Linked DNA regions of Homo sapiens: regions 1, 3, 4, 5, 6 and 7 are each linked to region 2. The links are contacts of gene promoters, found by promoter capture Hi-C in human tissues and cell types (Jung and others, 2019). All regions are on one chromosome and are shown on one strand. Each heading gives the region's core, a stretch centred on a gene start or on the middle of the fragment in contact. The rest is flanking DNA. Distances are from core to core; before and after follow the strand shown.

What was found. The method cuts DNA at HindIII sites, captures the fragments that hold promoters and counts their contacts. A contact is called where the count stands out against the background at its distance.
Region 1: a contact is called between a fragment that was not itself captured here and the fragment with the promoter of TBX3 in region 2, in 1 of the 25 tissues and cell types used here (heart left ventricle).
Region 3: a fragment that was not itself captured here is called in contact with the fragment with the promoter of TBX3 in region 2 in 1 of the 25 tissues and cell types used here (aorta).
Region 4: a contact is called between a fragment that was not itself captured here and the fragment with the promoter of TBX3 in region 2, in 1 of the 25 tissues and cell types used here (IMR-90 fibroblasts).
Region 5: a contact is called between a fragment that was not itself captured here and the fragment with the promoter of TBX3 in region 2, in 3 of the 25 tissues and cell types used here (lymphoblastoid cells, small bowel and stomach).
Region 6: a contact is called between a fragment that was not itself captured here and the fragment with the promoter of TBX3 in region 2, in 1 of the 25 tissues and cell types used here (H1 embryonic stem cells).
Region 7: a contact is called between a fragment that was not itself captured here and the fragment with the promoter of TBX3 in region 2, in 1 of the 25 tissues and cell types used here (mesenchymal stem cells).

The regions. Positions count from the first base shown.
Region 1 is chr12:115,316,238-115,320,225 of GRCh38, reverse strand. All of the region lies in intron 7 of LOC124903082 (a long non-coding RNA gene), which reads left to right. Among named protein-coding and RNA genes, the nearest start is that of LINC02463, 570 kb to the left of the region's middle. The HindIII fragment of the contact is 3,067 bases long and covers 295-3,361 here.
Region 2 is chr12:114,682,430-114,686,347 of GRCh38, reverse strand. It overlaps TBX3 (T-box transcription factor 3), which reads left to right and starts at 2,173. Exons shown (of 7, transcript NM_005996.4): 1 at 2,173-3,536. The coding sequence starts at 3,148. TBX3-AS1 (TBX3 antisense RNA 1) reads right to left here. Exons shown (of 2, transcript NR_187552.1): 1 at 3,714-3,918. RefSeq lists an enhancer at 1-351 and a promoter at 1,662-2,171. The HindIII fragment of the contact is 7,860 bases long and covers 1-3,918 here.
Region 3 is chr12:115,248,938-115,252,834 of GRCh38, reverse strand. No RefSeq gene overlaps it. Among named protein-coding and RNA genes, the nearest start is that of TBX3, 570 kb to the right of the region's middle. The HindIII fragment of the contact is 3,281 bases long and covers 18-3,298 here.
Region 4 is chr12:115,383,613-115,387,778 of GRCh38, reverse strand. All of the region lies in intron 3 of LOC105370003 (a long non-coding RNA gene), which reads left to right. Among named protein-coding and RNA genes, the nearest start is that of LINC02463, 500 kb to the left of the region's middle. RefSeq lists a silencer at 1-135. The HindIII fragment of the contact is 5,625 bases long and covers 1-4,166 here.
Region 5 is chr12:115,576,599-115,580,446 of GRCh38, reverse strand. The region is part of intron 1 of LOC105370003 (a long non-coding RNA gene); the gene reads left to right. Among named protein-coding and RNA genes, the nearest start is that of LINC02463, 310 kb to the left of the region's middle. The HindIII fragment of the contact is 8,093 bases long and covers 1-3,848 here.
Region 6 is chr12:115,493,425-115,497,085 of GRCh38, reverse strand. All of the region lies in intron 2 of LOC105370003 (a long non-coding RNA gene), which reads left to right. Among named protein-coding and RNA genes, the nearest start is that of LINC02463, 390 kb to the left of the region's middle. The HindIII fragment of the contact is 3,866 bases long and covers 80-3,661 here.
Region 7 is chr12:115,472,557-115,476,515 of GRCh38, reverse strand. All of the region lies in intron 2 of LOC105370003 (a long non-coding RNA gene), which reads left to right. Among named protein-coding and RNA genes, the nearest start is that of LINC02463, 410 kb to the left of the region's middle. RefSeq lists an enhancer at 1,059-2,258. The HindIII fragment of the contact is 3,603 bases long and covers 779-3,959 here.

The sequences.
Region 1 (3,988 bases), core at 579-3,078, 630 kb before region 2:
GATCAGTGCTTCTTAAGCTTTAAGTTGCAAATGAACTCTCTGAGTGAAGATGTTGTTAAAACGAAGATTCTGATTCAGTAAGTACGAGGTGAGATCTGATATTCTGCATTTCTTGTTTGCTCCCAGGTGACAATGATACCACTGATACACAGACCACACTTTGAGAAGCAAGGTTCTATAGCAATGGTTCTCAATTCTTATTGCGCATCAGAATCACCCAGAAGGCTTGCTGAAACACACACTCCTGGGCCCCGTCCTTGGAGATTCGGCTTCAGTAGGTCTGGGTGGAGGGCCTGAGAATTTGCATTTCTAATAATTTCCCTGGATGACTGATCCAGGAACCAAAGTTTGAGAACCACTGGCCTAGACTGCTTTGCTCATGCCCCTCCCAGGTCTTCCAGAGTGCCTAAGCTGACTTCGTCGCAGCAGTCTTTTATTCAATCAGCTGGTGTTTACTCGGACACTTCCCATGCTGCAGGGGTTGTACCGGGCACATAGGAGGCAGTGCCTTGTAGCTGTTGTCAGCAAGAACTTTAAATGTGGAAGATGCGTTGTAAATTCCAGCCTAAGCTTTTTAGCTTCCTAACTAGGACAGATTGTTTTATCTATACAATCTGTCATAGAAGCTATTATATGTTGGAAACTCTGGAAGATCTATAATTACCCTTAACACTCAGCTCTACTTTGTAAGTTACATTTATTTATTCTTAGTTTCTAAATAGGATTACCATGGCCAGTGCCTTTCTAACAATTTTAGAGTCATTTTATTTGTGAGATTAATGATTTGAAACTTCGATTTTGTCAGAGATCTCTAGACTGACCTCTAGAGATAGGCGTGTTAAGAATTAACAGCCTTTAAATTCTGGGATACATGTGCAGAATATGCAGGTTTGTTACATAGGTATACATGTGCCATGTTGGTGTGCTGCACCTATCAACCCATCATCTACATTAGGTATTTCTCCTAATGCTATCCCTCCCCTAGCCCCCCACCCCCCAACAGGCCCCAATGTGTGATGTTCCCCTGCCTGTGTCCATGCGTTCTCATTGTTCAACTCCCACTTATGAGTGAGAACATGCAGTGTTTGGTTTTCTGCTCCTGTGTTAGTTTGCTGAGAATGATGGTTTCAGGCTTCATCCATGACCCTGCAAAGGTCATGAACTCATCCTTCTTTATGGCTGCATAGGATTCCATGGTGTATATGTGCCACATTTTCTTTATCCAGTCTATCATTGATGGGCATTTGGGTTGGTTCCAAGTCTTTGCTATTGTGAACAGTGCTGTAATAAACATTCATGTGCATGCGTCTTTATAGTAGAATGATTTATAATCCTTTGGGTATACCCAGTAATGGGATTGCTGTGTCAAATTGTATTTCTGGTTCTAGATCCTTGAGGAATTGCCACACTGTCTTCCACAATGGTTGAACTAATTTACACTCCCACTAACAGTGTAAAAGCGTTCAGTGTTTCTTTAACAGTAAAGACATTTTCATTATCAAATAATGATGTTCATGTTTTTCTAGAAAAACTATCATTACTCCATTTGTTTAAACTTTGATCTTGAATAAAAATAAAACAAGCAAAAAAAATTAACATTCTTCAGCTGGGCGCAGTGGCTCATGCCTGTAATCCCAGCACTTTGGGAAGCTGAGGCAGGTGAATCGCTTGAGGTCAGGAGTTCAAGACGAGCCTAGTCAACATGGTGAAATCTGTCTCTACAGAAAATACAAAAATTAGGTGGGTGTGGTGGCACGCACCTGTAGTCCCAGCTATTCAGAGGCTGAGCTAGGAGAATCGCTTGAACCCATGAGGCAGAGGTTACAGTGAGCCGAGATCACACCACTGCACTCCAGCCTGGGTGACAGAGCAAGCCTCTGTTTCAAAAAAAAAGAAAGAAAGAAAGAAAGAATTAACAGCCTTCTTTCTAGAAGCAGGGATCTGCCCAGTTAGCAAGGAGATTGGGTGGACCAATGCTGGGAATAGAATCCTGAGATTAAAGATATTGTTATTAAAAATATCTCTAATGTCCTTTGAAGTGAGGAGGCTCATTGCCTTTTCCCATTTCAAGAACCTCAGCAATTTTGAGGCACCAGAATTTTCCCTTTAAATCTAACTTCTGTCTTTCTTACTTTATTGTCAGTCCATTTTTAAGCCAAATCACTGAGTTATGACTCACATTGAAACGCTGTGCATCTTTAATGCACACAACTTGATGAGTTTGGAGATAAGTGTACACCTGTGAAGCTATCACCACAATCAACACCATAATCATTTCAATCACCTCCAAAAGTTTCCTTCTGCCCTCTTTGTTTGATATGGTTATTATTACTGTGATAAGAAGACAATGTAAGATCTATCCTTCTAGCATATTTTTAGTATACAATAGAATATTCTTAACTATAGCTACTATGTTGTCCTCTGGATATCTAGGACTTATTTATCTGGCATAATCAAAACTTTGTATCATTTGACCAACATCTCTCCGTTTCACCCTCCCTGTAGGCTTGGCAATCACCACTCTGCTCTCTGCTTCTGTGAGTTTGACTATTTTAGATTCTTCATAGAAGTGGGTTCATGTAGTACTTGTCCTTCTGTGCCTGGCTTATTTCACTTACCATAATATCCTCCAAGTTCATCCACATTGTTTCAAATGGCAGGATTTTCTTGCTTTTTAAGGCTGAATAACAATTCATTATATGTATATACCAATTTTCTTTATCTGTTTATCTGTCAGTGGACATTTAGATTGCTCTCATGTCTTAGCTATTGTGAATAATGCAATTCCGATTTCAATTCCTTTGGATATACACCCAGAAGTGGGATTTCTGGATTATATAATGATCTATTTTTATTTATTTATTTATTTATTTATTTATTTATTTTGAGACAGTCTCGCTCTGTCACCCAGGCTGGAGTGCAGTGGCACCATCCCAGCTCACTGTAACCTCTACCTCCTGGATTCAAGTGATTCTCCTGCCTCAGCCTCCCAAATAGCTGGGATTACAGGCATGTGTCACCACACCCAGCTAATTTTTTAATTTTTATTAGAGACAGAGTCTCATCATGTTGCCTGGGCTGGACTCAAACTCCTGGCCTCAAGAGATCCACCTGTCTTGACCTCCCAAACTGCTGGAATTACAGGTGTGAGCCACTATGCCCAGCCATGATGACCTATTTTTAACTTTTTGAGCAACCTCTGTACTGTTTTGCATAGTGGTTGCACCAATTTACATTCTGACCAAAATTATACAAGAGTTCTCTTTCTTCCACATCCCCACCAAAACTTGTTATCTTTTTAAGACAATAGCCATCCTGACAGGTGTGAGGTGAGATCTCATTGTGGTTTTGATGTGCATTTCTCTGATGATGTTGAGCATCTTTTCATAGCTATTGGTCATTGGTTTGTTTTCTTTGGGAAAATGTCTATTCAAGTCTTTTACTCCTTGAAAAATCTGGTTCTTCTTCACTTCCTTCCTTCCTTTCTTCTTTTCTTCCTCCCTTCTTCCCTTCTTTTCTTCTTTATTTCTTTGCTTCCTCTCTTCTTTTCTTTTCCTTTTCTTTTCTTTCCTTCCTTCCTTTCTTTCTTTCTGTCTCTCTTTCTTTCTTTCTCTCTCTCTTTCTCTTTCTTTTTTCTCTCTCTCTTCCTTCCTTCCTTTCTTTCTTTCTTTCTTTCTTTCTTTCTTTCTTTCTTTCTTTCTTTCTTTCTTTCTTTCATTCTTTCCCTCCCTCCCTCCCTCCCTCCCTCCCTCCCTTCCTTCCTCTCCTCTCCTTTCTCCCTTTCTCTCCCTCTCTCCTAGTAAATTGTAGGAGTTTCTTATATCGTTTGGATATCAACCCTTAATGATATATACAGCTATGGTTTGCAAACATTTTCTCCCGTTCTGTTAGTTGTATTATCATTTTGAAGTTTTTTTGTTCTGTGAAGAAGGTTTTTAGTTAGATATAGTCCAATTTGTCTGTTTTTGCTTTTGTTGCTTGTGCTTTT
Region 2 (3,918 bases), core at 924-3,423:
GCCTGGCCTTTCGCACCCTTCAGGTGGGGAGGAGGGGATGCGGGAGGGGGTGTTATGAGCCAACACTCTGGGGCACCACCACCTCGTAATTTTCCCTCTCTCTCCTTTCTCTATTTTAACCACTGGCAGAGACAGAGAGGACGCCAGAGAAAGACAGACTGAAAGGGAAAGAAAGGGGCGAGATGGCGAGCCAGACGGAGTTCGCAGAACCACACTATTCTCTCTGGTGACTTCAGGGAATTCTCAACGCTGGCGCCAAGCTCTCTTAACCATGTGCGTCAAAAATGCGAGGCTGGAGAAGCCTGTCGCCTCAAAAGATCCTCCCCTATCTCAGCGTGGTTGGCCCACAAGAGCACTTCATTTTCACCCTTCCCTTGGTGCCACGTTGGGGTTTCGGGGTTGCTGGGGGTTGCGCGGGTGCACAAGGCAAAATGCGAGAGAGGCCTGTGCTGGCCTACAGAGACACACACATCCAAAGCCCTGAGTCTCTTAAACCCCTAAGCCCCCAGATCAGCCCTTTCTCCGTTCCCTTTCCATCGAAGAAGCTTTCATCTCAGGAAAGATAAAAGAACATTGTTTTCAAGATTTCCCTCCATCTAAGCAAGGATGGTCCAAGACATTGGCCCCCAGAATCAAGAACTGTGGGCTTAGGCGAATCCTCTGACCCCGACCGGGCGCTGCGGTAACAGAGTTGGTAATTCGGCGATTGGTAAGATCCGGTCGTTTCCCTCCCGTCCGCCTAAGAGGAGGCCCCCACCCTACCCGTACTAAAAACAGTCAACTCGCCTCTGAGGTGGGGGCGTTTCACGGTTTGTTTTACAAATTCACCCTCCCTCCCCGACTTCTGGCCAGATTAAGTCCCCGGGGTGGAGAAAGAACTGAGGCACCGAGAGATAAGTGCGATGCCTAGAGAAGATACCAGGCTGGCGCGCCTCCCCCAACCCAATCGCCCACCCCTTACCCTGTGCTGTGCACCCAGCCGGGCCTCGAGGTGAGGGCAGCGGCTTGGAGGGGACAGGCTCAGAACCCAGTCTCTCGCTGTGCTCGCTTTGTCCAGATCCTCCATTCTCTTCTCTACACCCACACCCACATCCAGGTGGAATATGGGGGCCCGCATGCAAATGAAAGACGAGATCCAAAAGGGCTGGTAAATGCATTTCATAAAAATCCCAAATCCATCTTCCCCAGGAGCTCAGGCAGGGCCAGCCGCGCAGGCTGTGTACGTGTTTGTGTGTACGTGTTTTTCGGTGTGTGTTTCAGTCCCAGTGTGTTGGCGCGTGTTCGAGTACAGATACACCGGGGGTGTTTGGGTACCCGCACATGGCTGCGGGTGGGGCGCAGTGGAGAGGAAGCCCACACATGCGTGTGCTGAGATATGGCCGCATCCTTGTGCTCCCCCAGCCCAGACGCAGGGGAGACCAGCACCGAGACACCCGAGCTCGGGAGCCCTTCAGCGGCGGCCGGGCGGAGCTTGGCTCCACGTGGGGCTGGAGAGCACGCAAGCCTGGAGTCTCGGCGCTCGCTTCTCGGCTGCCGCCGGCTTTTGTAGAACCGAGTGGCCGGATGGCAGCTCGCGGGGAGGCTCGGCCACCCGCCCGGCTCGCCCGGGGCGGGGAGAAGAAGGAGAGCTGGAGAGAGAACCGGCCGCGGCGGTCGGAGAGGCGAGCGGAGTGCAAGAGAGGCGAGCGCCCCTGCCCGGCGCCCGGGCGCGCTCTCCGCCTTCCCCGCCCGGCTCGCCTGCTCGCTGGCTCCCTCCCTCTCTCCCTCCCCCTTCCTCCTTGGCCCTGCCTCCTCCCTCGATCCCCGGCTGGATGACTGAGGCATTTCAGACGTGGGCTGAACCAGAGCGAGCGAGCGAGCTCAGGGGCTGCAGCGATCTCTCGATAAGCCACCTAGAGGCGACTCTGTGCGCGCGCGCTCCCCAGTGGCTCCCGCCCGCCCTCTGATCATGTTGACATATTCACAGGACAGGCAGTAGTACCGATGCGGCGCTGCGACGTTACAGTTTCCGACACCTTCTTTTTATAACTCAGCTCTATCCCCCAGCACTCGACCTGTGAAAACCACGCCTATGCAGCAACACAATTGGTCCGAAAGCGTCAAAGAGCCAATCAAGAGGCCTCCGGCTCCCCGCAGCCCACAGCGCAGCCCGACCTTCTAGAGCCGCCGAGCAGACGCCCGGTGAATTCTAGAGGCGGCGGAGGGTGGCGAGGAGCTCTCGCTTTCTCTCGCTCCCTCCCTCTCCGACTCCGTCTCTCTCTCTCTCTCTCTCTCTCCCCTCCCTCTCTTTCCCTCTGTTCCATTTTTTCCCCCTCTAAATCCTCCCTGCCCTGCGCGCCTGGACACAGATTTAGGAAGCGAATTCGCTCACGTTTTAGGACAAGGAAGAGAGAGAGGCACGGGAGAAGAGCCCAGCAAGATTTGGATTGAAACCGAGACACCCTCCGGAGGCTCGGAGCAGAGGAAGGAGGAGGAGGGCGGCGAACGGAAGCCAGTTTGCAATTCAAGTTTTGATAGCGCTGGTAGAAGGGGGTTTAAATCAGATTTTTTTTTTTTTAAAGGAGAGAGACTTTTTCCGCTCTCTCGCTCCCTGTTAAAGCCGGGTCTAGCACAGCTGCAGACGCCACCAGCGAGAAAGAGGGAGAGGAAGACAGATAGGGGGCGGGGGAAGAAGAAAAAGAAAGGTAAAAAGTCTTCTAGGAGAACCTTTCACATTTGCAACAAAAGACCTAGGGGCTGGAGAGAGATTCCTGGGACGCAGGGCTGGAGTGTCTATTTCGAGCTCAGCGGCAGGGCTCGGGCGCGAGTCGAGACCCTGCTCGCTCCTCTCGCTTCTGAAACCGACGTTCAGGAGCGGCTTTTTAAAAACGCAAGGCACAAGGACGGTCACCCGCGCGACTATGTTTGCTGATTTTTCGCCTTGCCCTCTTTAAAAGCGGCCTCCCATTCTCCAAAAGACACTTCCCCTCCTCCCTTTGAAGTGCATTAGTTGTGATTTCTGCCTCCTTTTCTTTTTTCTTTCTTTTTTGTTTTGCTTTTTCCCCCCTTTTGAATTATGTGCTGCTGTTAAACAACAACAAAAAAACAACAAAACACAGCAGCTGCGGACTTGTCCCCGGCTGGAGCCCAGCGCCCCGCCTGGAGTGGATGAGCCTCTCCATGAGAGATCCGGTCATTCCTGGGACAAGCATGGCCTACCATCCGTTCCTACCTCACCGGGCGCCGGACTTCGCCATGAGCGCGGTGCTGGGTCACCAGCCGCCGTTCTTCCCCGCGCTGACGCTGCCTCCCAACGGCGCGGCGGCGCTCTCGCTGCCGGGCGCCCTGGCCAAGCCGATCATGGATCAATTGGTGGGGGCGGCCGAGACCGGCATCCCGTTCTCCTCCCTGGGGCCCCAGGCGCATCTGAGGCCTTTGAAGACCATGGAGCCCGAAGAAGAGGTGGAGGACGACCCCAAGGTGCACCTGGAGGCTAAAGAACTTTGGGATCAGTTTCACAAGCGGGGCACCGAGATGGTCATTACCAAGTCGGGAAGGTAAGCAGTGGGGGCCTCCTCCCCTAAGCTGTTGGAGAGTTTTTTCCTCCCTTTATTTCTCTGCTCCCAGAACAGTCGGTTGGTCGGTTATTACGGCTTGGACGAAAAGTTAGTTCCCCTAGAAATGTATGCACAGACTTCCAGGCCCTGCCCCGGTGGCAGGAAATTTCAGCTTACCTGGGCATCTGCATGGGTCTTGCATTTGGTCTGCATCCTGGGTTCCCTCCCGAACAGACAGAATTTTTCAGTGGAGCACAGACATCCCTGCAGGGAGCAGGAAAGAAAAAAAAAAAAGGCACTCTACTGCAAGAAACTCACTCTTCAAACCCTCCTGGAACATCCTTATTTCTTTGTTGATGTTGTGTTGTCTGTTTTATTTTGT
Region 3 (3,897 bases), core at 409-2,908, 570 kb before region 2:
ATACACAGAGATACAAAAACATACACAGAAACACAAAGAAACAAACACAAAAGCATATAGAAATGCCCATAGAGAAACACACACATGCAGAGAAACAAAAACACACAGAAACACAAATACAGGCATAGGCACATTCAAACACACACAAAAAACACAAAAACACACACAGAAATGAAGACTCAAAAAGATAAACAAACATCCAAATAACACATATCAACACACACAAATACATGTATAAACACACAGAAACACAAACACAAAATACAAACAAACATAGAAACAGAAACACAAATGCACACACAAACACACAGACAGAAACAAACACAAAAGCATATGGAAAGACACATGCGCACAGAAACAAACAAAAGCACACAAGAACACACACACAAAAGCACCCACAAGCCCATAAAGAAATGCACCCACGCGCACACCGCCATGGCTTGCACTCATGCAGAGGACTTGGGCCCTCTGGCCCTGCTGATGCCATTGATGCCTTGGTGCGATTCCTTCCAGAGCTGTAGATCCTGAGCAACAAATGTGATCTCCATTTCCTTAAGTCCCATAAGGCCAAGGGCAGAGCCAGGCATAAGAACCCTGAGGGTCAGAGAAATCGCCAGGCAGCCACCGGCATGGGTTCAAATCCCTGCTCTGCCACTAAGTGATGACATAAACCAGACCTCCATTTTCCTTTTATAAAACAGTGGGGGGTAATGCTCCCTTTTCCCAAGGATTAAGTGTATTAACACACAAGGTGCCTGGATGAGGGCTCAGTGAAGTTATTTTCACTAACACTGACTCTCAAATACTGCCATCTCCGGGTTCTCACCTGTGCAGCTTGGGGTTCCCATGCGTAATGACTCACTCAGTTATTTCTGGAATCCCTAGCGGTTGCCTCGCACACATTCTTGAAGAGTAATCTGTTTTCCCATTATGATGACCCCCGTTAAGGGGCTGCCTCCAAAGCCTTGTGGGAGGTTCTCTCTCCATCTCATACGGCCAGGTTGCTGGAGTCCAACACAAAACACCAATTCTGTTCAAGCACTGTTTCTTGGTCCTCCCAAAGCTGCCAGCCCCTGGGGATGCCCATTCCTGCCACATTCACTGTGGACTTTATCATCAGAGCTGCGCTGTGCTGGACAAAGCTGGGGTGCTGCCTGATGCCCAACTCACTCTGATGCCTGCAGTCCTATCAGTACCAGATTTACCTCTCCTCTCAAAGTCCATATGAAAGCCTCTCTTCTCCCCACCCTCCCTTCCCCTTCTCTCCTTCTCATCTTCCTCCTCATCTTCTTCCTTCCTCTTCTCTCTTCTTCTCCTTCTTCTCTCCCTTCTTTCTCCTCTTTTCTTCCTCTTTCCCTTCCTCCTCCTCCTCTTCCTCCTCATCTTCCTTCCTCTTCTCTCTTCTTCTCCTTCTTCTCTCCCTTCTTTCTCTTTTCTTCCTCTTTCCCTTCCTCCTCCTCCTCTTCCTCCTCATCTTCTTCCTTCCTCTTCTCTCTTCTTCTCCTTCTTCTCTCCCTTCTTTCTCCTCTTTTCTTCCTCTTTCCCTTCCTCCTCCTCCTCTTCCTTCTCTTTTCCTCTCCTCCTCCCTCTCTCCCTTATAACTGAGACCTAGGGCATAGGCAGCCCCATGCCTGCTCCATCTCCTTCTCTTTCCTATCCTTTTCACCTCTTTCCCTGAAGCTTGTCTCAAGCTGCTTTCTGTTTGCACTTGAAAGACGGTGCCTCAGTATGGACATTTCAGGCCATTTTTAAGTGCAAATTTTAATGCAGAACAGGAGAGGAAACAAGAACAGTCAGTGTGGGGGTGGGGGGTGCGGTGCCACCCAATGGAATGAGCACCTCAGCTTGGAGCCAGAAAGACCTGGAGTAAAATCCCAAGTCTCCCGCTTGCTGGCTCAGGACAACAGTCACAGAATGTGCCACTTACTAAAGAGGGACACAGCCAGAGACATGTCAGTGCTACTGACCTCTCTGAGGTTCCCTCGGAGGCCAGGACTCTGCCCAGTGCCATAGGACACTACCTTTCCATCCAGAGGAAGCAAACTGCTTTATATCCTCCATCTCCGCCTCCCCAGTCCAGAGACATGGAAAGATAAGCTTAGTAGTGAGGAAAAGGAGGAAATTCAGAGATCCAGCAATAATCAGGATCAACTGACCCTTCAACCACCACACACAGGCAACCCAAACGTGTCTGCAGCATTGTGTGTGGATGACCCTTATGGAAAAAAGCTATAGAATCCTTCCAAACAGCCTTCCTACATCCAGAAAGCTGTTTATGTGGTGGTTATGGCTTTGGGGCTTTGGGGGTAGACAGGGCTGATGGTGAGTCCTGGTTCTAGAACTTTCTATGCACTCATGGCATGCTCTTTGATCTCTGTAATCTTCAGCTTCCTTAGCTTGGAAAATGGGCACCATGATGCCTCTTGATGTCAGGGATTCCACTCATCACAGAGTAAGAGGCTGGCATTTCGATTGTGTTGTTATTATTTTAATGAGCTGACGGATGAGGAAAACATATCTCTGAGTATGAGAAAGCCTAAGACAGAAAGACTGGGCACTATAATGACAGGCTTTGTCTCTGTCTTGCTTTTGTAGAAAGCTGGGCTTAGACTTACGCCTTGGGTTAATTTCCTTGTGTCTCCCTCTGCCCCCTCCTTTCTCCTACCTCCTTCCTCCCTATCCTGCAAGGGTGAAGTTAGCACACCACTGGGGTTAGCAGGAGGTACAAACTGGATTAGATGTTAAATCAATTTGGTCTTCCTCCCCAAGGGCGGCACAGGCAGGTTCCACATGAATAATGATTTGTCTGAGGCAGCAAACTGGATTATTTGATCAAAAAGGGGAAAAAACAACTCATGTTCATTTTTTAATAATGGCTTTTGCATCCAGTCTCCAAGCTTGGCTAAGAGGGGAGGGAGAGAGAGGGGGTGGCTGTCGGGGAGGATGAGCTGGAAAGGAGACAGTAACACAATGCTTTTTCCTCTGAGATCTCCTGCTCCAACCTCAGGCTAGAGCAGGGTCTGCCAGATCCAGCCCCCAGCATGATCTTGTTTGGGTATGGCCTGCAAGCTCAGGATGATTGTATGTTTCTAAATCTTGGAATAAAAATCAAAGGAATAATAATATTTATCTCAAGTGCTTTGCAATATGTCATAGTCTGTTGTATGTCTTTGCATCTATTACAGCTCATTTAATCTTTACTATGGAGAAAACACTACAGATGAATTTATAGATGAGAAAACTGAAGCTTCTGGAATAGGAGTCTCAAATTCAGCGCTAACTGACATTTGGGGCTGGGTCATTCTTGGTTGTGGGGCGCTTTCTTATGCATTGTAGTATGTTGAGAAGCTTCTATGGCCTCTACCCACTAGATGCCAGTGGTATTCTCATCCCCAAGTTTGAACAACCAAAACTGTCTCCAGTCAAATGTCACCTGGAGAGCAAAGTTATCACTGGTTAACAATCTCTGTTCTAGGATGGTTAAGTAAGTCATCAAAAATCATATAGCTACTGACTAGTTTAGCTGGAATTCAAACCCAGGGAGTCTTCCCCAGACACTCTCTCCTAACCAGCTTCTCCATATGAGAAGTTCTCCAACATGAGGAGGGTGGTACAGCTGCACTAAGAGACATTGGCCATGCCTTCTAGAGAGTGCTTATGTGGGAATATCAGTGTTTCAGAGAAACAAGGAAAGGATCCGTAGAATGAGGCCATATTTCTACCACGATGGTGGGGAACACTAACCTTGTACCCTATTTATACCATGTTAATCCCCCGCTGATATGGTTTGGCTGTGTCCCCACCCAAATCTCATCTTAAATTCCCACATTTTGTGGGAGGAGCCCAGTGGGAGGTAATTGAGTCATGGAGGCAGGTCTTTGTCATGCTGTCCTCACA
Region 4 (4,166 bases), core at 244-2,743, 700 kb before region 2:
TCAGGGACGGAATCGCTTTAGGAAGACAGCCTGATGGATCTTGGGCCCCATTTCTATGGCAACAAAGCTGCAAGGCCTGAACGTCTGATTTTGTTTTGGGATGTGGCGGCTGCTAATTATAGGCAGCTCCATGTCCCTTTGCTCTTCCCTAGAATGGTCTCTATTTGTTGTCAAGGTTTATTTACTTTCTTTTTTGGACTTCAGTCCTCCTACCCTTCTTGCACTTTACCCTTAAATATGTGAGTGAATATACGTGTGTGTGTGTGTGTGTGTGTATGTCTGCATTCATTCATGTGTGTGCTGTATATATGTGTGTGAATATATATAGATGTGTGCACTCTTTATCTATATTTATATATATATTTATATATAGATAGAGAGAGAGAGAGAGAGAGAGAGAAATCTTTGTTGTATTTAGTGCTGTGTGCTTTACTAGTTGTTATGGAAACCAAAAGCCAGATTTGAGCAGAAGGGCCCAAGGTGTCCCTTAGTCCAGCTGTAAAGCACAGGAAACAATTTTGGGCCCCAGGGATGATGAGGAGAGATGAAAGGAAGAGCATAAAGGAGTGGAAGGGGGTGAGGATGTGCGAAGAAGATGAGTTAGACGGGGCCCACTAAGGCTCATTCATCAGAAGACGTACATGTACGTGAGTTGGCCAGGGGCCTCCCTTAGCAACTGGCACATCTTCAATGAAGATTCTCTGTGCTGCACTGTCTGCTTTCTTCTTTCCTAGAGGTTGATCTGCAAACTTCTCTGCTTGGAAGGCTGACTCCGCCTTTGGGGCCCTGGTGAGTCCTTAGGAGGAAAAACGTGGCAGGCCTTCCACAGGCTCCCTCCTGGGACTGATGCACACACAGCGGTGAGGGAGGCAGGAGCCTTCCTTCTTAGTCTCAGTCTAAGTCACTTCTGTCCAATATGGTAGCCACTAGCCACATATGGCTATTTAAATAAACTAAAACAAAATAAAATAAAAAATACTGTCTTTTCTCTGTACTTTCTGCTCAGTGTTTCTGTAAACCTAAAACTGCTCTAAAAAGTGGTCTATGAATTTTTAAAAAATTTAATTCCTCAGTTGTCCTACATACATTTCAAGTGCTCCTAGCCACATAGCGACTGGTAGCTATTGTATTGGATGAATAAAGCAGATGTAGACCATTTCCATCATTCTGGAAAGTTCTATGGAACAACTTTGATCTCAGTAATAGTGTACCCTTCTGGACTAATCCTTACATGTTCCAGAGCAAAGAGAAACTATTCATTCATTCAGCAAATATTTACTCCTTGCCAGAATTGTTCTGGGTGCCTAGGATTTCGCTGGGACAGACATACTTCTGCCCTTGTGAAGTTTATGTGCTGGTACATCATAGGTGTTACATAGATACAAATGGAACATGACTATGGGGAAAAAGAAAGCAGGTGAAGGAAAATAGAGAAGGCTGGGTGCTGGGGTAGTGGAGAGGGTTCTATTTGATAAAGGGTATTCAGAGAAGGCTCACTGAGGAGGTGACAGATGGCAGAGCGGTGGCCTGAAGGAAGGGAATGAGGGAGTATGCCTTGCAGATTTCTGTAGCAGAGAATTCCAAGCAGACGGGGCTGTAGTGCAAATGTCATGAGGTTGGAGCATGCTGCTCATTTTGAATAGAGTAGTGACATGGTCTGGTTTAGGATGTAACAGGATCCCTCTGGCTGTGAAGTGGAGAGTACGGGATGCCACAGAGTGACCAGTAAGAAGGTTGGTGCCACATCCCGAGTGAGAGGTGATGGTGGCTTGGACCAGGGAGGTAGCCTTGGGAGAGGTGAGACGTGGTCAGATTTCGGGCGATACCCTGAAAGTAGAGCAGGCAGGACTTGCTGCTGGATTCACGTGGCATGAGAGAAAGAGGAGTTGAGGATGATGAGAAGGATAGAGTTTGCAATTATGGAAATGGGGTAGATGGCAGAAGGAGTGGTTATGCAGGGACGATAATCAGTATAGTTGTGGAAATAGCAAGTTTGAGATGCCTACTAAATATCTGAGTGTTGATCTCTTTATATGAGTGTATTCATTCAACACGTATTTGCTGGGCTCCAATACATATCCAGGACTCAGTCATTTGCATATAAGAGATGAGCATAACTCCTTATTTTCAACTTTCTCTAATTGATCCATTAAAAAATAAACATCTTTTTTTTCCTTTGTTCTTGCACCAGCTTGTACTTTAAACTCTATATTTAGCAGAGCACTGGGATGACTGACTTGGTCCCTTGATTCTACTTTTTTTTTTTTTTTTTTTGCAGTTCACCTAGTTCACAGCCAGACACTTTGCTGGGTTGCAGAGACACTAAGAACATAAAATGCCAGCCCGGCCCTTGATAAGCTGACAGCCAGTGGGAGTTGCTAAGGCACAGGACAAAGCACATGGGCTTTGGGCCCATCAAACCTGATTCATGAAACTGGCTCTACCGCTCACGAGCTCCTTAGCCTGGGGCCACACACTTAACCTCTCTGAACTTGTTTGCTCATCTGTATAATGGAGCACCTGACACCCAACTCACAGGACTGTCAGCAGGATCAGAGAAAATGCGTATACATTCACCTGCACAGTACCTGATATATGTAAGTGCTTATTTAATACATGGTGGTTAGCATTAACTTTACTGTTACCAAATGAAACAGACACATAACAGGAAAAATTATCATATATATTGTGTTAGGCACTTTTAAAAACAGATCTGAATAAAGTGTTAGGAGACAGGATAGCAGAGGGTAGGAATATGGGCTTTGGAGATAGATGTTGATTCCAAACCTAGCACCTCCATTCATGCAGTGAGTTGACACTGGGCAAGTGCCTTGGCATTTTGATTTGTAAAATGGGCACAATTACCTATTAGTACCAACTCACAGGTATATTGCTCATTTTTCTTTTTTTAAAGAGATAGGATCTGACTCTGTCGCCCAGGCTGGAGTGCAGTGATGGGATCATAGCTCACTACAGTCTTGACTTTCTGTACTCAAGCGATCTTCCTGCGTAGCTGGGACTACAGACACATGACACCGTGCCTGGCTAATTTTTGTACTTTTTGTAGAGATAACATCTTGATTTGTTGCCTAGAGTGGCCTCAAAACTCCTGGCCTCAAGTGATCCTCCCACCTTGGCCTCCCAAAGGGCTGGAATTACGGGTGTGAGACACCTCACCTGGCCTGGAATGTTGTGAATGTAAAGGGGATGACACATCATACAAAGGGATTCACACTTTTTTTTAGCTATAGGGCTTGCTCAATAAGTGTGCATTGCTGCTATTTCCACAGGAACACAGGTGGCCAAAGAAACCTCTTAAGAGGGAAAAAATGAATCACGGGGAATATGCTCATATAAGAAATTAGGGAAAGAAAAGAAAGAAAAAAAAACAAAGCCTTTTTTTTTTTTTTTTTTTTTTTTGCTGGGTATAGGAAGGCATCCCAGGCTGCTTCATCATTGCCCTGTCCAGTTCTGACAAATATCTTTGACATCCCCAGAGAGAACACTGAGGCCCTTCAAGATTTTAAATTCTCTGAGAAGTCTTCAAAGGTCTACTTTGACTGTAGTAGAAGAGTGACTGGTATCTTCGGAATGGTTTTGAAGTTCAGTGGTAAACATGTCTTTTGGGCTGTATTTTTATCAAGGAACATGTAAATATACCAGCGTGCCCTCTCCCTAAGTCCCCAGGAGCCTTGATGTTTTCCTAGATGTCAACTCCAGCACTTCCGTGAGTGGTAGAGGCAGTGGATGCTCATTCTAAACAAGGTGGTGCAACCAGTTTGTTGTAGGTGTAGTTTTCCTGAACTGGTAAATTGTCCAAAACTTTCACTGACTGTGCAATCAGTCACTCCTTGTGCTACTTGCAGACTTGGCTTGTGGCCTGACCTACTTCACGTTTACACAGGCCCGAAGCTTGCCTGCAAACATCATCGGGGAGCTAGAGATGACGGGCAAGGAGTGATTCATTTCTTTGGCCGTGAGTTGCTTAAAGCAACTCATTTGCGTGCTTGGGGTAACCCCCTTCAAAGTTAAGCAGGCAAGGTGAGCCTTGCTCCATCTGCCCTCAGTAAAGAGATGGCATCCTGCTGGTTATCTTGCTGACATAGCTGGTCCTGCTTAACCAGGTGAGGCAGAGTGTGAAGAGCTTCTTCTGGCGATCAGGCAGA
Region 5 (3,848 bases), core at 455-2,954, 890 kb before region 2:
GGGATACTGAAGTGTCACCTAGTCTACGATTTTCCAATCACTCAGCCTTTCACTCATTCATTGAATGTATATGTTTAAAACACATACTCTGTGCCAGCCGCTGTTCTAGGAGATAGAAGTGAATACAACAGGCAAGGTCCCCAACCTCATGGAGCTGACATCCTGGTGGAAAGAAGTCATCAACAGATGCATAAATAATATGCTCGTGATATGGACTAGGCAGAAAAGTAAAGCAGGGAAGGGGGTAAAACTGCGTGAGGCTGGAAATGGAGTAGAGAATAGGGTGGTCAGACATGGCCTCCCTGCTAAGTTGACATTGGAACAGACACTCAAAGGAAGTGAAAAAGTGAGCCATGCACGTTGCCTGGGGGAAGAGCATCTGAGCAGAGGGAATGGCATTGCAAAGCCCCAGAGTGGTCAGGTAGAGAGTGTGTTTAAGGAGCAGTGAGGAAGCCCATGGGCTCAGAAGGATGAACAGAAGGTAAGTATAGGTCAGAGAGTTAGGGAGACACGGTGACCAGAGCATATGGGGCCCTGTGGCCATCGTAAGAATTTGGCTTTTACTCTGAGTGAGATGGGAGCCATGGGAGGGTTTTGAGCAAAGAAGGGGTGTGATCTAACTATTGCTTCTTAATATTTAACACAATCACCCTGCCAGCCTTGCTAATAACAGGCTGAAAGGGGACAAGGGCAGGAGCGAAAATCCAAGGTAAGAGGCTACAGCTATCTTCAATGATTCTAAAGATGGGGCAGGTACTACCGGGTTACCTGAGATAGGATTTGATGAGCTGAGGACCAGAATTAAATACTCTGTATCACGTAGAGATTATCCTCTTTTCAACTTTCCTTCAATCTATCCGGTTGGACTAAAAAGAAAGTTTCCCCATCTTGGAGTATGTCTTTAACATTTTCCCCTTTCAACTTTCCTTCAATCTATCCGGTTGGACTAAAAAGAAAGTTTCCCCATCTTGGAGTATGTCTTTAACATTTTCCCCATTGCTGCTAATCTTTCTTTTTAATAAAATGAGAACAGCCACAGGTGAAACACCTTAAGTGGGCAACTGTATCCAGCTAGAATTTAATAATGCACTTGCTTTCATTACATTTATTTTTAACAGCTTTATTGAAATTCACATAGCATACAACTCACCCGCATAAGGTGTATAATCCAGTGGTTTTTAGTATATTCACAGAGCTGTACATCTATCACCACAATTGATTTTAGAATATTTTCACCATCCTTAAAAGAAATCCGATGCCTCTCTGCCATCACCCCCACTGCCCCCATCTCCTCCAACCCTGGGCAAGCACTAATCTACTATCTACTTTCCTTCTGTGTCTGTAGGTTTCCCATTCTGGACATTTCACATGAATGGAATAATACAAGGCTTCTTTCACTTAGCATCATTTTTTCAAGGTTAATCCATGTTGGGGCATGTGTCCATGCCTCAGTCCATTTTATGGTGAAATCATATCCCATTGCGTGAATAAACCACGTTCTGTTTATTCAGCTAATGACATTTGGCTTTCTACTTTTTTTTTGCTATTATGAATAATGCTGCTATGACCATTTGTATACAATTAATTTGGGTGTGTGAATGTATGTTTTTATTTATCTTGGGGTATATGCTAGGAGAGGAATTGCTGGGTCATCACCATTTGAGAAACTGACAGTTTTCCATAGTGGCTGTACCATTTTCCATTCTCACCAGTGGTAGAGGAGGTCTCCAACTTTTCCACATTCTCCCTAAACTTTTTATTTGTCTTTTTGATCACAGCCCTCTTAATGGATATGAAATGTTCTTCCCTTGTGGTTTTGGTTCGCATTTTCCTAATGGCCGAGCATCTTTTCATGTGATTATTGGCCATTTGTATAATCTCTTCGGAAAGATATCTATTCAGGTCCTTTGCCTTTTTTTTTTTTTTTTTTTTTTTTTTTGAGACGGAGTCTCACTCTGTTGCCAGGCTGGAGTGCAGTGGTGCGATCTCGGCTCACTGCAAGCTCCACCTCCCAGGTTCACGCCATTCTCCTGCCTCAGCTTCCCAAGTAACTGGGACTACAGTTGCCCGCCACCACGCCTGGCTAATTTTTTTTGTATTTTTAGTAGAGATGGGGTTTCACCGTGTTAGCCAGCTTGGTCTCGATCTCCTGACCTCATGATCTGTCTGCCTCGGCCTCCCAAAGTGCTGGGATTACAGGCTTGAGCCATCGCGCCCGGCCTGCCCGTTTTTTAAATTGGGGTCTTTGTCCTTTGTATTATTGAGTTAGTTGTAAGAGATCTCTATATCTTCTGATACAATTCCCTCATCAGATGCATGATTTGCAAATAATTTCTCCCATTCTATGCATTGTCTTGTCACTTTTTTGACTTGCTGCTTTTTTTGTAGTTACTTTTTTGACAAGTGATACTGGTTTTCCAGTAAGAACTATGTTGTGAATTTCACCTTTAAATGAATTTACCTAAAAAATGTGAAGCGGTGGCTGACGCCTTTTATTTTACACATGGGAAGACTGGGGGCCCTGAGAAACCCGAGGCAGATGTGGGGCTACCAATTGGATGCCCCGATCACCAGCCCCTGCCTCTTTGCACCACCCTAAGCTTTGTTGGGGGAGGACACATGCCAGCATTCTATCCCATCGATTGTGTGTGCTTGCTGAGTGAACAGGAAGGAGGCATCTTGTCTGTACGTTATAGCGGTTGCCTGTGGGCAGGGTAGCTTTTCACAGTGCAGAGCAGCGTGATAGGGTGTCTATCTGCAAGCTGAGTGTGTGGGCATGTTACAGAGGCCACTGTGTGTGTGTGGGGGGGTGGTATGTGCCAGGGCACCTACACTCAGATGTAAACGTGAGCTCATGGGCACACGTGCATTCCATGTGAGCACTCAGCCAGAGTGCGTGGGAATTAGGAACATGTTCCAGCTTTGCAGACTGAGCACAAGAAATAGAACATGGGATGTGTGTGTGCTCATACTCAGTACAGGCTGACCTTGCTTTTGACCTTGAGCTTCTCTGCATTCAGTCTTCTCATCTATAAAGCAAAAGAGAGCTGGGCTAGAACAACTCTCCCCACCCCTCTTTTTAACTGCAAGTTTAGTTCAAATGGAAGCTGTGTATCAGTATTCTACCAGGAAAACTACCATCAGGTACAGTGAATAAGAGGGAGACTCTGGAGTTAGACCAGGGTTCAGCAGACTTTTTCTATTAAGTGCAAGATAGCAAACACGTTTGGCTTTGTGAACCATCTAGTCTCTGTCACTATTCTTCAACCCTGCCCTTGTAGCATAAGCAGAGGCAGACAATATATACATGAATGGACCGGGGCTGTTTTCTAATAAAGTTTTATTTACAAAAACAGGTGATTGGTCATATTTGGACCCTGGGCCATCATCTGCTGACTCTGTGTTAGAGAGTCTGAGTTCATATCTCACCTCTGTCACTTTCTAGCTGTGTGATCTTGGGCAAGTTACTTAACCTTTCTGAGCCTCAGTTTCCTCATCTGTAAAATGGAGATGATTATCCTACCTCTTTCATGAGTTGTGGTGAGGACTAGAGAAGGTATTTCATAGAAAAGTCCCTAGCATGTAGTAAACATTCAATTAATGTTAGCTACTATAGTGACATTCTTATGTATGTGCATGTGTGTGCCCATGTGTGTTCACTCTGTGGGTGTGCTCGGCAGGCATGCACGGGTTTAGCACACATTGCCAGCATGGGTGATCATGGAGATGTGCACACGGTGCATGCAGTATGCCTATTGGTGCAGAGTAGATACCTATATGGGATGTGTACTCGTGCTGGTTATGAGCTGAACAAGTGTGGGAGTCCAGACTTGAGAACACAGAGTCTG
Region 6 (3,661 bases), core at 763-3,262, 810 kb before region 2:
GGGTTTATGCCTAGATATCTGTGTGCTCCTGACTGCCTCTAAGGGTGTGACCCCTTGTGCGATACTCCTGGAGGTCTGTGTATTTCTCTATCTCTTCCTTTCCCAAGAAGCCAGGATTTTTCTGCCATTGCACATCCTTGAACTTGCCAAGATGATGCCAATAGGTTGAACTTTCATGATCTGCACCACAGGTTGGCAAACTTTTCCTTAAAAGGTAAGACAGTAAATATTTCAAGCTTTGTGCACCACATGGTCTTTGTGACAATTACTTTCATCTCTGCCTTTGTAAAGTCTAAGCAGTCTTAGATAATATGTAAATGAATGAGTGTAATTGTGCTCCACTAAGACTTAATCTGTGGACACTAAAATTTGAATTTCATATCACCTTTATGTGCCATAAAATAGTCCTTATTTTTATTTTTGAGATGGAGTCTTGCTCTGTCACCCAGGCTGAAGTGCAGTGGCACAATCTCGGCTCATTGCAACCTCTGCCTCCCAGGTTCAAGTGATTCTCCTGCCTCAGCCTCCTGAGTATCTGGGATTACAGGCACATGCCACCATGACTGGCTAACTTTTGTATTTTTAGTAGAGACAGGGTTTGCCATGTTGGCCAGCCTGGTCTCAAACTCCTGACCTCAGGTGATCTGCCCACCTTGGCCTCCCGAAGTGCTAGGATTACAGGTGTGAGCCACTGTGCCCAGCCAAAATATTATTCTTATTATTATTGTTATCAACTCTCTAGAAAGGTGGAAACTATTCTTAGCTCACGGGACATACAAAAACAGGCAGTAAGTGGATTTGGCCCTCAGGCCTTAGTTTGCGGATTCTAGGTCTATACACATGGAATGGGCATCCCTCCTTTATCCTCTTCCTGCCTAGTGAGAGTTGAGCGTCAAGGGCAACCGCTTAACCCTTTGTGGGCTTAGCAAACAGACCTGCAGCCTGCCCAGGAGACCTGGAGACCTGAATCTCTGCTTTGCAGTTGACTGGCTGGGGGATGAGGGCCGCTGACCTCCTGTCTCTGAGTTTCAGCTTTCTCCTCTATAATATGAGCTGGCAATGCTTACCTTGGCATAAAGTCTTTGACACTGTGCCTAGCACATTGTTAGTGCTCAGCAAATAGTGTCTACCTATCTGTGTATATTTCTCTACTCTCCTGTCTCTCCAGCTTTAAGCCCAGTCTGCAATGAATGAGCCAAGGTTGTAAGCAACATGGGTAGTTCCAAGGGTGAAGATGTGAGTTCTTTCCAGTGGATCAGGGAAGGCTACTTGAAGAGGGAGGATCCTGGCTGGGTGAAATGTGACTGTCAATGCAGAGAGCTACAAAATGAAGGTTGGCAAAACACAAGGTCTGTTACCCTTTTCCACATCCATATCAGTTTGGCTGTTCTTTGTTGTCATGTTCCTTGGTAATTTCAGCCCTGGATGACAGAAAGCTATGATCACCTATCCCCCAGAATTTATTGAAGATCCCCTTGACTGGGCTTTGAAGCTAAGATCTGTTGAGAACAGAATGGACAAACCATCTACTTTTGAGTCCCAGTTCTGCTACCTACTAGCCTAGTTACTTTTGGCAAGTGATGACATCACCTTTTCAAGTCTCAGTTTCCTCACCTGTAAAATGGTCTACTAAATGCACCTTCTGTGTAGGGCTGTTGCGAAGCCTCAAGACATGATGGGCACACATTTAGTACAATTCCTGTTGAATATGAAATGCTCGATAACTTTGGCTACATTTATGGTCATTCCCAAGTACAGTGAACCCCTCAAGAGGGGAAAAAGTCGTCAGCCAAAGTGACCTGGATTTTTGTGATTCAGCTTTTGCTGTACTTTTCAGATTCTTCGGTTACCTGGAAATATGACTCTGGCATTTCTATGAGATTCCCCAGATAAAAATCTGGGCAATAATCGTCTTTGCCCCTTTAATGAGCTATTAAGTGGCTTTGCTTAAATAATAGAGCAATTATTTTTTAGAATGCTGGCCTCTGGGGCCCTCCCCGGTCTTGGAGCTTTCACATCCCTACTTGCTTTACCAGGGTGACAAATGGAGACATCTTTCTGCTTCTTCCTCCTCCCCAGGGATGAGAGGCAGGTAAGACCATAGGTCACTGAGGGATCAGTCTTGGCAAAGATGCATGCAGGTAGCCCTCAGAAAGTTGCCCTCAGAATTTAACCTACACGTGTGCCCCACATGTAGGCCCCTGGAAAAAGGCCTGCTCCTGCAACCACTACTAAAACCCTGGCTTCTTCTTGATCGTCCTTCGCCTGACATCATGGTAACCTGGATGATGTGCTATGCCAAGGGTTTAATGACATTTTGACTTAATGTGTGTGACTTTTTAAATCTTGGAAATACCATTGCCTACCATGCGGTGGGATAAACAAAAAACCGAGGTTCAAATCTGCTCTTGCCACTTCCTAGCTCTATGACCTGAGAAAGCTCATGAAATTCTTGTAACCTCAGTTTCCTCATCTGCTCAATGGGGCCAATAATAACTTGGAGAATCCATTTTAAACAGCCTGCTCAGGAAAAATGTCCCCAAGTCTTCCTTTATTGTGTCACAATCCTGCTCAATAACCTCCCATGGCTTCTTGCTACCTTTGGAGTAAAGTCTAAGGATCTTACCCCAGAATTCAATGCTTTCCATTATGTGGTTTGGACTTACTTTTTCCTATCCCATCCCCTTCCATGAACCACCTGATCTATTTGAATTGGTTTCTTCATGGCTTCACTATACCATGCACTTTCAGCCTCTTGGTTTTCGCTCATAGATCCCTGTTACACGAAATGCGTTTTCTGTTCCTGCTTATCTATCATAACTTGTCCTATCTGTACCACTTACTAGCTGCATGACCTTGGGCAAGCCACTTTGCCACCTACATGAAACTTTTCATCTGTAAATGGGGGAACATAAAATGACATCCTCAAGGTGCTCTATCCAGGATTCAGCACAATATTACATGTTAAGAGCAAAGCAGGGTGCCTCATGCACAGTAAGCTCACAGTTAGCAGTTAGTGGTTTTGCTATAGCTAAAATCCTTCTCCCTCTCTAAGCACCTTTCCTAACAACTCAGGTTCCTTTTGATTCTTCTCTTCATACAGCTCTAAGAGAAATTGCCTCCCTGAAACTCCGTCCAGCAGCCAGGCACCATGGATATTTTCCTGGCCTTCCAAGCACACCAGACCCCCTCTTGGCCCCGGGGGGTTTCCTTCTGAGTGTGATGTGGGGTATTGATTATGGCCTCTGATGTCCTCACAAGTATGCCTTATCTCTTGTTCTTGTAGGATGTCTCTTACCTGACCCCTATGCCAGTATCATGATTCAAAGCCTCAGTCGAAAGTTCCTGAATTCTATCTCCAAGAACAGCCTTTAAGCAGAAAGGTCATTGTCAGGATCTTTAGAAGAGAAAGCTTGGAACAGTAACCCCCGGGAAATATTCTAGTTTTGCCAGATACTGGAGAATCAAATGAGTAAGGGAAAATATTCTGTGCAGTAAAATGGTTCTTCCGACACACACTTGGCTTTAGACTTTGCAAAGCTCTTACACTCAAATTACATTTCTCAGTTAAGACTCCAGCACCACTGTGAAGTGAATACTGTTGATCCCATTCCACAGGTGGGCAAACTGGTTTGGAGAGGTTAAGGGAATTGCCTAAGTT
Region 7 (3,959 bases), core at 1,331-3,830, 790 kb before region 2:
TTTTACATGTCAGTAAAAGCTTTCTAAATGTTTTTATTTGCTACTTAATTGCTAGCTAACCATTCTCCTACTAATGAACTTGTAGGGTCTTTCAAGTTTCTTGTATTATAAATAACACCGTGAAGGACATCTTTAAACATGAATATTTGTGTAGACTGATTTTGAAAATCAGGTTGTGGATCTGAGTTCGATATGTTTGTTTTTTTTTCTTTTTGTTTTTGGTAAGTCTTAGGGAGGGCAACATATTTTTCAGGTCAAAAATGAGTTTTTGAATTTTACCTTATCTCTGTCCTAAGCCAATTTCTCAAAGTCACACTCTTAAAGATATTGACTCATCTTCTTTTCTACATTGCCTAAGTGAGTTTTTAATTTTATAATGTTTGACAACTCAAATAATATTTTTGAAACATTTGAAGTATGGGCTATCTCATACCATCTATACATGTAGGGAATTGATGAGCACGAAACCCCAAGAAGTGGAATATTCAAATGAATTTGATGATTGGCCTTGGAGTGTGTTATATGGATTACCTTGTAGGTTGCATTCAGCTACTAATGAAGTGATTTCGTATTCTCCAAATATTTGCTGACTCCAAATGAATGAAGAATTTGAGAGATATTTGCTGTGTAGCAAAAGCAAGCCCATGTGGTGGTTCGTTTAAAATCCCAACTGTATTTTCTCTCTAATCATGTAACTTGTCACAGTGTATTATAGTTTCTGGTAGATTAATCTTTATTCTCCACTAGGTCAGGAATTTCAGGAAGCCATAAATGTATATCTGGTATACCGTGGCTGATAATATAATATCTGGCACATGGCCGGTATTCAGAAAATTGTGTTAGAAGGAAGCAAACAAGTGAGAAAGCCAGTCGTAAACAACCTTGCAAAAACAATTCTTGAGAAATGACTCTGCTTGTTCGGAACCATCATACACTGGAAAATTCTTAAACCTTCTTTTCAAGCATTATAAGAGATAACTTTTTAGAACCATAAGACTTGCAGAAAATGGCGAACTTAGGTGGCCTCTGGGGTCAGAACTTTGAGGACATGGCTGAAATGAGTTCAATCACTCTTTGAGTTATCAAAACTGCACTAATTCTAGGCTCACCCTGAGGAGGGGGGTTTCAATCTAATTGGGGGGAAATCTCTGCCTTGACAAAAAGTCACCTGTTTATATCTCATGGACTCTAAGAGGAACTGTCTCAGGCCATGAAATGCTGGCTGGACAAGCCCTTTCATGCCCCTTCACAGAGCGCTTTCTTTCGTTTTCGAATTCATACAATGTCACAATCCATACAGGATGATCTGGCCCAAACCCTTCACCTGCTAGAAGGGGACACTCTGGGGTCAGCCTCTTCTGTTCCGACTCAGATAGCATCTCTCGGCGCCAATTGTGCAATCATTGGCCTTGCGTGACTCCTCAGTTTGCTCTTCATCTTCTGCTCTCCTCACAGGCTATGAAGGACAAGAATTAATTTATGGTGCTATGAAATGCGCTGGGCTTATCAAGGGTTTTTATGGGTTAATATCCACAAGCTTCACCTCCCTTACCTTTGGTCCTGGAGATCATGTTTACAGTGCAGGTTTGAACTTAAGGGAAGGGGTTAGGTGAGGAAGAAGGCAATTAAAGGACTCACAGTCACCTGCTGGTCCGTTCAGAGCAGGTAAGACTTGCCTAGGTGTGGGCAGGGGGCCCTTCACCCAGAGCCCTATCTCTGGAGGAAGATAAATTCACAGTTAATAAAGATAAGGGCCTGAGAGAAATGCCATTAAGGACTACATTGCCAGCCCAGCCCAGCCGATCAAAGCCAACGGTGACTAATTCTCTTAATGGGAAATACCGGGGGTCAGAGAAGGTTTTGTGTCACAGGGTTGGTGAGGAAAACCAGCTTGGGCAGGCATGGCTTTGAACCCTACCTTCGTCACTTAACAGCCACGAGATCCTGAGCAAGTGTTTTTGCCTCTTTAAGCCTCAACCTGCAGGATCTCTCTTTCTTCTGTCTTAGGCCTCTTGACTGCATGAACTATAATGGTGTATGAAAAGCAACTGGTGCCATGCTGGGCACAGGATAGCTAATCAATAAATGTGAATTTCTCCCTTTACCCCCTTTCCCCTTTTCTTCCTTTGACGGTGCCTTTGAAAATAAACTCATTTGGAGGCTGGGCACGGTGGCTTATGCCTATAATCCCAGCAGTTTGGAAGGCCAAGGCAAGCGGATCACTAGAGGTCAGGAGTTCGAGACCAGCCTGGCCAAGATGGCAAAACCCCATCTCTACTAAAAATGCAAAAATTAGCCAGGTGTGGTGGTGCACGCCTATAATCCCAGCTACTCAGGAGGCTGAGGCAGGAGAATCGTTTGAACCCAGAAGGCGGAGGTTGCAGTGAGCCGAGATCACACCACTGCACTCCAGCCTGGGTGACAGAGAAAGACTTTGCCTCAAAACAAAACAAAACAAAACAAACTAAATTTATTTGGTTTGCTTGTATCCTTTCATTCATTAAGCCATTGATTGATGTGACAGACATATAAAGCACTTACTAAGTGCCAGAATCCAGGCTCAGCATAGAGCACATTTAAAATATCAGGTGCAAAATTTGTCCTTATGAAGCTATGGTCTAAAGAGGGGAAGAAACGTTAGTTCGGATAGCTACCACACATTGAACACTGACGACATGCAGTACTTTTCCTGTATTTACTCATTGAATCCTCATAACAACTCTCTGAAGTAGATACCATCATGATCCCATTTTATGGATGGAAAAACTGAGGCACAGGGTCATGAAGTAACTTACCCCAGATGCCACAATTAGTAAGTGTCAGAGTATAAGTGTACCCTGCAGCCCATGTGCAGAAAACTACTGGGGTGTTACAAGAAGATAACTATTAACCCTTTGCACTTGGCGATTTACCCATTTGGGGGCTGTTGGTGGAATTTGGCTAATTTGGTTGTCCACCCCCTTGCTAATCCAGAGCGTGTGGTCCGTGGCCTGGCAGCTTGGACATTCCCTGGGAGCTGGCAAGAAATACTGAATCTCAGGCCCCACCTCAGACCTGCTGAACCAGTCTCATTTTGACAAGGTTCCAGGGGATCTATGTGCCAGCTGGAATTTGAGAAGTGTTTGTTTATATGTCCAAACTGTCTTTCCACTGTATAATTAAAATAACAACTAAAAAGCCACCCAGGTAGTGCTATTGTATAGCCCCGAAGTCACTGGGTTGAGGAGACCTGTGAGATGCCCATAGGAAGTAGCCTGGGCACCCCTTAAGTGGCTTGACCCCACGTTTCTTCAACCCCCTTAAGACTCTGCTATCACCTACAGTGTCTTCCCTAACATCATCAGCAGGGTTCAAATGTTCCTTGGCATAGAATCTCCCGCAATGCTTCCTAAGCAGAGATGTTGACCTGCAGAACGTGCCCTGTTGTGGGCATGGGTGGGGTTAGGGTCAGTTTCTGGTCCACTCTCCAGCATCCTCATGGCCCTCATCATTATCTGCAATGACGTGAGTCATTCAACTGTTCACCTCTTCACCATAGAGTCATTCCATTAGATTGTCACTTTCATGGGGGCAGCTATTTACCTGGCTCAATTACCTCTTCATCCCAGCACCAGGAAGAGACCTGGCACATAGGAGGTGTTCAATAAATATTTATTGAATGAATGAATAAATGCAGAAACCTATTCTAAATCTTTTTTTTTTTTTTTTTTTTTTGAGACAAGGTCTCACCCTGTCACCCAGGCTGGAATGTAGTGGTGCACTCTCAACTCACTGCAACCTCCCCTTCTGGGACTCAAGCAATCCTTCTCTCTCAGCCTCCCGAGTAGCTGGGATTACAAGCATGTGCCACCATGTCTGGCTAATTTTTTCTATTTTTTGTAGAGATGCGGTTTTGTCTTGTTGCCCAGGCTGGTCTTGAATGCCTGGACTAAAGCAATCCTCCTGCATCAGTCTCCCCA